Linked DNA regions of Homo sapiens: region 2 is linked to region 1. The links are contacts of gene promoters, found by promoter capture Hi-C in blood cells and fetal thymus (Javierre and others, 2016). All regions are on one chromosome and are shown on one strand. The core of a region is centred on a gene start or on the middle of the fragment in contact, and the rest is flanking DNA. Distances in the headings are between cores, read along the strand shown.

Region 1 (3,676 bases), core at 654-3,153:
AAAATAAGGCCAACGATTTTCACTTTTAAAAAAATGCCCATGGACCGGGCGCGGCGGCTCACACCTGCAATCCCAGAACTTTTGGGAAGCCGAGGCGGGCGAATCACGAGGTCAGGAGTTCGACCCAGCCTGGCCAATATGGTGAAACCCCGTCACAACTAAAAATACAAAAATTAGCCGGGCATGGTGGCGCACACCTGTAGTCCCAGCTACTCGGGAGGCTGAGGCAGAACAATCGCTTGAACCCGCGAGGCGGAGGTGGCAGTGAGCCGAGATCGCGCCACTGCACTCCAGCCTCGGCGACAGAGCGAGATTCCATCGCCAAAAAAAAACCACAAATAAATAAATAAATAAATGCCTATTTTGGTCATTTGGAACTATAGGAACAAGGCTAGTATCAAATGTCATTAGATAGACCAGAGTCTTACGCGGTAAAAATTTATCAAGCAACGAGACCAACTTTACAGTTTTTTAAAAAATGTAAACTCATAGTAGCACTTATTCACAGTAGCCCAAAGATGTTAACCCAAATGTCCATCAACAGAAACGGATAAGCAAAATGTGGTATAGACATAAAATGAGTATTATTCAGAATGATGTACTGACAAATCCTCCAACGTTGGAAAATCTTGAAAACATTACGCTAAGTTAAAGAAGCCAGACATAAAAGTACACGATTCCATAAATACTAAATATCTAAAATAGCTAAGTTCAGAGAGACAGGAAGATTAGTGGTTGCTAGGGACTAGAGGAAGGGGGACAGGGAATCTGGGAGTAAGTGCTCAATGGGTAGTAGTCTCCTGCGGGGGGAGGTGACGGAAATGTTTTGGAACTACGTGTAAGTGATGATTACACAACACTGAATATACTAAATACCACTTAAAGATAATTTCACTTTAATAAAAAATTACAAAGAGATATTTGCTACTAAAAAATTTACTGCACTTTGGGGACTTATTTTTTTGTTCTTCCTTGGCGGACTTGTATTTGATAAAGCTTTATTACTGAGTCACTTCGACGATGAATCTGATAAACTTGTAGACCAGTTTCAATTACATAAAAACCATCTACTCAATAATTCAGCTGAAGTGCTTTCCATAAACACCACGTTCTTCTTACTCTGGGCTTGTCTAATTAAAATATCCAGTCCAGACACATCCTATTTGCCGTGACCACACCCTGTGCCCAGGAGTAAGTTCTAAGACCAAACCACTGGTGAAAATTTTTAAAAACACTGCTGGCACCTGTCTTAAGCCTCCATTTTAATGGGAAGCGATGAAAGAACGAATCTTAAGTTCAAGGAAGATCTTTCGGTCTTAGAAAAAGGTGATTAGATTCAGGCTGCAAAATCTGAAACTACATGAAAGTAAGGTGACTACGGGGGCCATTTAATATGAACTGAAAGGTCCGGTCTTGGTTAGTGACTTTACAAAAACATTCTGAGAAGCTTCCCAATTAAATGAGGGGCCAAAAAAAAAAAAGGCGCCATAAAAATAAAAAGGCCGTGACCTGGAATACAACTCGGCTATCGGCTCCCCTTTGTGGTTCCCAACTCCCAGGTAACCCCCATCCTGGCTCATGCCCCAATGAGGAATATAAAGACTTCCACTCCAAGACTAGGAAACCCTCCGATGGGCCGGGAGCCCCCGCCACCGCCCCGTGCTGAACGTCACAAAATGGCGGCGGCGCCTCTTTGTCTCAATCTGGCGCCGCCATTGGGCCTGGCTCCTTGGTACTGTTAAATTCCATTTCCACCTCATTCCCTCTTTCGCTGGTCTCTTACCGAGATCTAGGGTTAAAAAATGCGGCGGCTCAAATCCACACGCTCCGATGAGTCTTCCCGCTTTCCTCCGGCCCAACACCAACCAACTCTCTCACTCACCCGGCGTCCACGAAATGGCGGACCACCGCCTTCTCCTCGCCTTTATTTATACGCCATACTGGAATCACATGATTGGACGGGCTCCCCCAATGAGAAGCAGAAGAGGCCGTGACGTATGGCTACAAACGCAGCGAGAGCCGCGGTTGCTGGGAGCGCGCTCTGGCGGTTGCGCCGGGTGGGTGGAGACGTGCGTCGGCGCGCGCTCGTTGTAACAGGCCTGGTGCTCCCTCGAGCGTTCCTCCCGGTCTGTCGACCTCCAGGTTACCCACAGACTCCTCTTCCTCACCTCCAAATAGGCTAGGGCTTCATAAACAGCACCGTCGCCGTCACGCTCAAACACTAATAGGAGCCGTTGGCCCCTAACAAGATTAAGAGATGAATTAATTAAGTGCTTCACCCTTGTGAGCGGTTAGTCTGGAACTAAGAGCATCGCGTTTACAAACAGGTCACGGAGCTGTTTGTGACCCAGCTGGCACCAGACTGTGGCCGCCTAGATTCCACACTGAAGGAAAAGCCTGGTTTGGAAAGTTTGCCCAACTCTTGCTGGTTTCTCGTCTCTCAAGCAAACTTGCAGGACTTGGCGCCGACAGCAAAGGAGACCGGTCAGGTGACCTGGAAACTATCACCTTTAGCAAACACCCGGAAAGGGAAGTTTCTGAAGAAGATTGAATGTAAATTCTGGCCCCCAAGCAAATGCCAGGAGGGGTATCTCGAGCCTTTCTCCTAGCAGCCGTTGCACTGCCTGGCATGTATTTTGTCCGGGCCACTTCCCTTACGAAGACAGAGCCGCAAGAGTAATTAAGGGGAGAGAGACTGTGATTGGGTTAGAAAAATCACCAAGGGCCGGGCGCGGTGGCTCATGCCTGTAATCCCAGCACTTTGGGAGGCCGAGGCAGGCGGATCACTTGAGGTCAGGAGTTCAAGACCAGCCTGGCCAACATGGTGAAATCCCGTCTCTATTAAAAATACAAATGGCCGGGCATGGTGGCAGGCGCCTGTAATCCCAGCTACTTGGGAGGCTGAGAGCAGGAGAATCGCTTGAACCCAGGAGGCGGAGGTTGCCGTGAGCTGAGATCCTACCACTGCACAAAAAAAAAAAGAGAGAAAAAGAACCTGTCTTTTTATTTATTCCCTCTTAGCTGAAAGATATGCCAATTATTATGTTTTTTTTTTTCTTTTTTCTTTTTTTTTTTTTCTTGAGATGGAGTCTCGTTCTGTTGCCCAGGCTGGAGTGCAATGGCGCGACCTCGGCTCACTGCAAACTCCGCCTCCCGGGTTCAAGCGATTCGCCTACCTCAGCTTCCCGAGTAGCTGGGATTACAGGCACCTGCCACCACACCCGGCTAATTTTTGTATTTTTAATAGAGACGGGGTTTCACCATGCTGGTCAGGCTGGTCTCGAACTCGCCACCTCAGGCGATTCTCCCGCCTCGGCCTCCCAAAGTGCTGGTATTACAGGCGTGAGCCACAGCACCCGGCCAGCCAATTAATATGTTTTAACTTTCCCAGGTATTTTTCTTTTGAAGCCTTACCTCTTATTGTGGTTCTAAAAGGTTTATCTGTAGTGGAGGAAAAAAATACAGATTTATTACATCTCAGCCTAGTTTCCTCACCTGTAAAAGGGGAGAAGGGGATCCTAGCAAACCTTTTCTTATTTCTCTCTCGTCTAGATTTTTTTTTCTGGCTCACTTATATTTGCCTTGATTTGTTCCCCTCCTCTATGTAAGCTTTTCTCCTCTTTTTCATTTTCTTTCCTTCTATCAAATCAAAGGCTCTGGAGTCAGGCAGTCCTGG
Region 2 (3,676 bases), core at 808-3,307, 260 kb before region 1:
TGTGCACGCCCTATTTCAGTCTTTTACATTTGTTCTTCTAGGGAATGTATGCATCTCTATATATATTTTCCCTCTCAAAACCAGAACATCAACAGTGCTGTTTCTGACACTTCAGACATCCCACGCAAAGCCACATTGAATTTTTGCCAAATGAAAAACACATCCAACAATCAAGTTTCTAAGAAGGTGTCAAGTGGGGAATAATAATAATGTATAATAATCAAGAAATTAGTTTATTAAAAGGAAGCAGAAGCATTGACCATTTTTTCCCAGAGAAGAGGAGAAATCTGTAGTGAGCAAAGGACAGACCATGAATCCTCCTTGAGAAGTAGTACTCTCAGAAAGGAGAAGCGCCACTCAAGTTCTTTTAACCCAAGACTTTAGAGAAATTAGGTCCAAGATTTTTATATGTTCAGTTGTTTATGTATAAAAATAACTTTCTGGATTTTGTGGGGAGGAGCAGGAGAGGAAGGAAGTTAATACCTATGTAATACATAGAAACTTCCACAATAAAATGCCATTGATGGTTGAAATTGCTGCTGTGGTCTGATTCTAAATATTGTATGAGGTTCCAATGGTCATTTTAATCCCAGTCATCTTAAGTAGTAGTACAGAGATTGAATGTTCAAGATTTCACATCATTTTAGGCTTGTGGATCTCCAGTAGACTTCTCCCTCTTTAAGAGCAATTCTAACTTTAAAAGGGCAGAACCAGAGAAAGAATTAAGTGACAGAAATTGACATTTCTGAATAAGAGGTGTATTCATCTGTTTTCACATTGCTATAAAGACACTACCTGAGACTAGGTAATTTATAAACAAGAGAGGTTTAATTGACTCACAGTTCCACATGGCTAGGGAGACCTCAGGAAACTTACAATAATGGTGGAAGGCAAAGGAGAAGCAAGCACCTTCTTTACAAGGTGGCAGGAGAGAGAGCGAGCACGGGGGAAACCACCATATTTAAACCATCAGATCTCATGAGATCTCCCTCACTATCGTGAGAACAGCATGCAGGGGGAAAATGCCCCATGATCAGTCACCTCCCACCAGATCCCTCCCTCGACACAGAGGATTACAATTCGAGATGAGATTTGGGTGGGGACACAGAGCCAAACCATGTTGGGGGGATTACCTGTAAGTGAACCAGGTGTATGTGCTAAGAGACCTGCACCATCCCTGGAATTTGCAGAGAGCCCACCTGCACATTATTATGGGACCAGAGGCAGTATATGTTGTGGTGTTTGGTTCCTTAAGCTGGTAGCTCCTTGAAGAGGGGATTATAACTTTAATGTTTCTTACTACTCTATCAATTTTGGAAATGGTGATTTACTTTATGGAATGGCCAAACAAGGTTCTGTTCCCCAAGCCTTCCCTACCTTCAACCTCTTTCTCTACCTTTCTCTTTTCTCTCAATAGCAAAAAAGCAAAACCCAACAACAAACCATATAAATGACTTTGTAACTTCCCAGAGATGGTTTTTGTATGCAAAGTAGTGTTCTACACTCTGGAAAAAATAGAAATGTATTTCTTTCAGCCTGAACTGGGTGGACATAATTGGATCTGCCTCTGAGAGCAAGGAATAGCACCTGTTCACTAACCTCCCAGAATCGTAATCCTGAAAATCTCCACTTTCATCCAAGGCACAGGCGTGGTGGAAACGTATCATGGCTACTCTGAAGCAAAGAAGGTTCTGCATGCCTTGGGAGGAGAGCCACACAGGCACAGTTCCTTGTTTTTGGAAAGGGACACCAAATCCATGCTAAGGCAGTCACGTGGGCACATACCAGTTTTCATAGAGGATATGACCTCAGAGAGTGAAGCTTGAATTGTTTCACAATTTGTGGTTCTGCCAGTTAGCCAGAGTTGTAGAAGTTCCCGTTTCCTTATAAGGGAAGCTCATCTAAAAGGAATCCTGCTTAATTCTTTGGTCATATGAGTGTCTACATCCTGTCAGGATTAGTACCATTGAGACAGGTCTCATAAAAGTGGGGTGTACTAGAGATAGTTCATTTTTGTTACATCTCATCACGGTGAGGGTGGTGAGCTTTCTCCTGGCTTATCAGGAGAAAACAAGGATAAGTTTAAAACTTGGATGGGGATTATTGAAGATAGGTGTGGAGGACCATGGGGGGCTCATCAAGGCACAGGAGAGAGACAGCTCTCTGCTGCTTCTCGTGGGGGAAGGGAAAGAGATTCTAGACATTTGGAGAAGGCTTAAAGTTGGAAGTAGATACACCAGTGGAAAAGGCTTTCAAACAGGTGCCCCTGGGATGATGGATAAGAGAAGCTTGGCACACAGACTATAAAGAATATGGCCCAAGGGCCCTAGCCCAGGGCTTCTCACATGACTACATGCAGGAATCACTGAGGGAGCCTGTTAGGAAGCAGCTTCTGACTCAGCACTCAGCCAGAGAGTCTGCAGTTCTCGCCAGCTCCCAGGAGATGGTGACTGCCGGTCCAGACACCACCCTTTGAGTAGTGAGGTCCTAGAGGTCACATTTGTCCAACATGAAACTGGGGAGGGGGGGTTTCCCTAAGAGCAAGGGCAGTCAGGACCATGAACCAATCTTATGCCTCCTGGAGCAGAGCTCTCCACCTCATCCTGGTGGTCTTGGAAGAGTGAAGAGATTCAAAGCACACGATGAGCTTTAACATAAGCTGCTGGCTTTGGCTACTGGGATTGAGCTTTATGAAAGTGTTCTGTTCCCACAGCAGTACAACATGGACTTCAGACCCTGGTATGTGGCACTGAGATACCTTGTGTGGACACCAGGGTGGGTGAGATTGGGTGATCAGTAGACATCACAGAAAATGCAGGGAAAAGAGCATCAACAAAGATGACATTGGGGGAAAGAGCTCTGGAACCTGACTGTCGGGGTTCAGATCCCAGCTCCACCACTTAGCAGCAGCATGAACTTAAGTTTCTTAATTTCTCTGTGCTTTAGTTTCTTCCACTATAAAATGAGAATAATGGGCCAAACTTCAAGGGCTATTGTGAAGATTAAATGAGCTAGAACAGGTATTTAGAACAGGAACTGGCATTTAGAAAACACCCCCAAAATGCTAGTTGTTGTTACTACCAGTGGCCCTTGAAGCCACCACACACCTGTCCTACCTCTTCATCTCGACATATACACAGCCTGACCTGTCTCAGCCTCTCACCTCACAGCTTCTCCCTCCCACTGGGCTAACCTCTGAGAACAAGGACCTTGTCTTACTCCCCTCTGTAAGTCTTCCCAGCACCTTGTGTAGTAATTTGAGGTTATTGCTGAATGTATCAAATAAAATGTTCTCCATCAGAAAAAGATTGAGATCCTCTTGTAGAAATTGCTGTACCCCAACTCTCCAAACCCAGGCTTCAGCTGGTATGGCAGCCAAGCCTTTCCACTGAGCTCTCTGGAAGTCCTCAGCCTGATGTATTTTTGGATTGTGTCTCCAGAATATGTCAAAATAGCTTTCCCCACACAAACACGATTGCTGCCCCCAGATCCTCAAGCCAGTCAGAGCCATCACTGGGGCCCCTTTTGGCACCATATTCTTGCAACATGTGGAGGAGGAAGCATTGAAAAGCACGTTAAAGCGGTGGAGTTTACCGCTTACAAAGAAGCACTTTGTGGTCTCAGAGTCCTGTTGCCTAAAGAGTGAGTTACTACTTTTTAGGTAAATACCAAGATA

What was found. The method cuts DNA at HindIII sites, captures the fragments that hold promoters and counts their contacts. A CHiCAGO score of 5 or more calls a contact.
Region 2: a contact is called between a fragment that was not itself captured here and the fragment with the promoter of SRSF3 in region 1, in 1 of 17 cell types (M0 macrophages). The highest score is 5.1, in M0 macrophages.

The regions. Positions count from the first base shown.
Region 1 is chr6:36,592,589-36,596,264 of GRCh38, reverse strand. SRSF3 (serine and arginine rich splicing factor 3) reads right to left here and starts at 1,903. Exons shown (of 6, transcript NM_003017.5): 1 at 1,784-1,903. RefSeq lists enhancers at 1,616-1,845, 1,446-2,127, 2,236-2,395. The HindIII fragment of the contact is 2,162 bases long and covers 1,450-3,611 here.
Region 2 is chr6:36,851,686-36,855,361 of GRCh38, reverse strand. PPIL1 (peptidylprolyl isomerase like 1) reads left to right here. Exons shown (of 4, transcript NM_016059.5): 4 at 1-533. Among named protein-coding and RNA genes, the nearest start is that of CPNE5, 14 kb to the right of the region's middle. The HindIII fragment of the contact is 467 bases long and covers 1,824-2,290 here.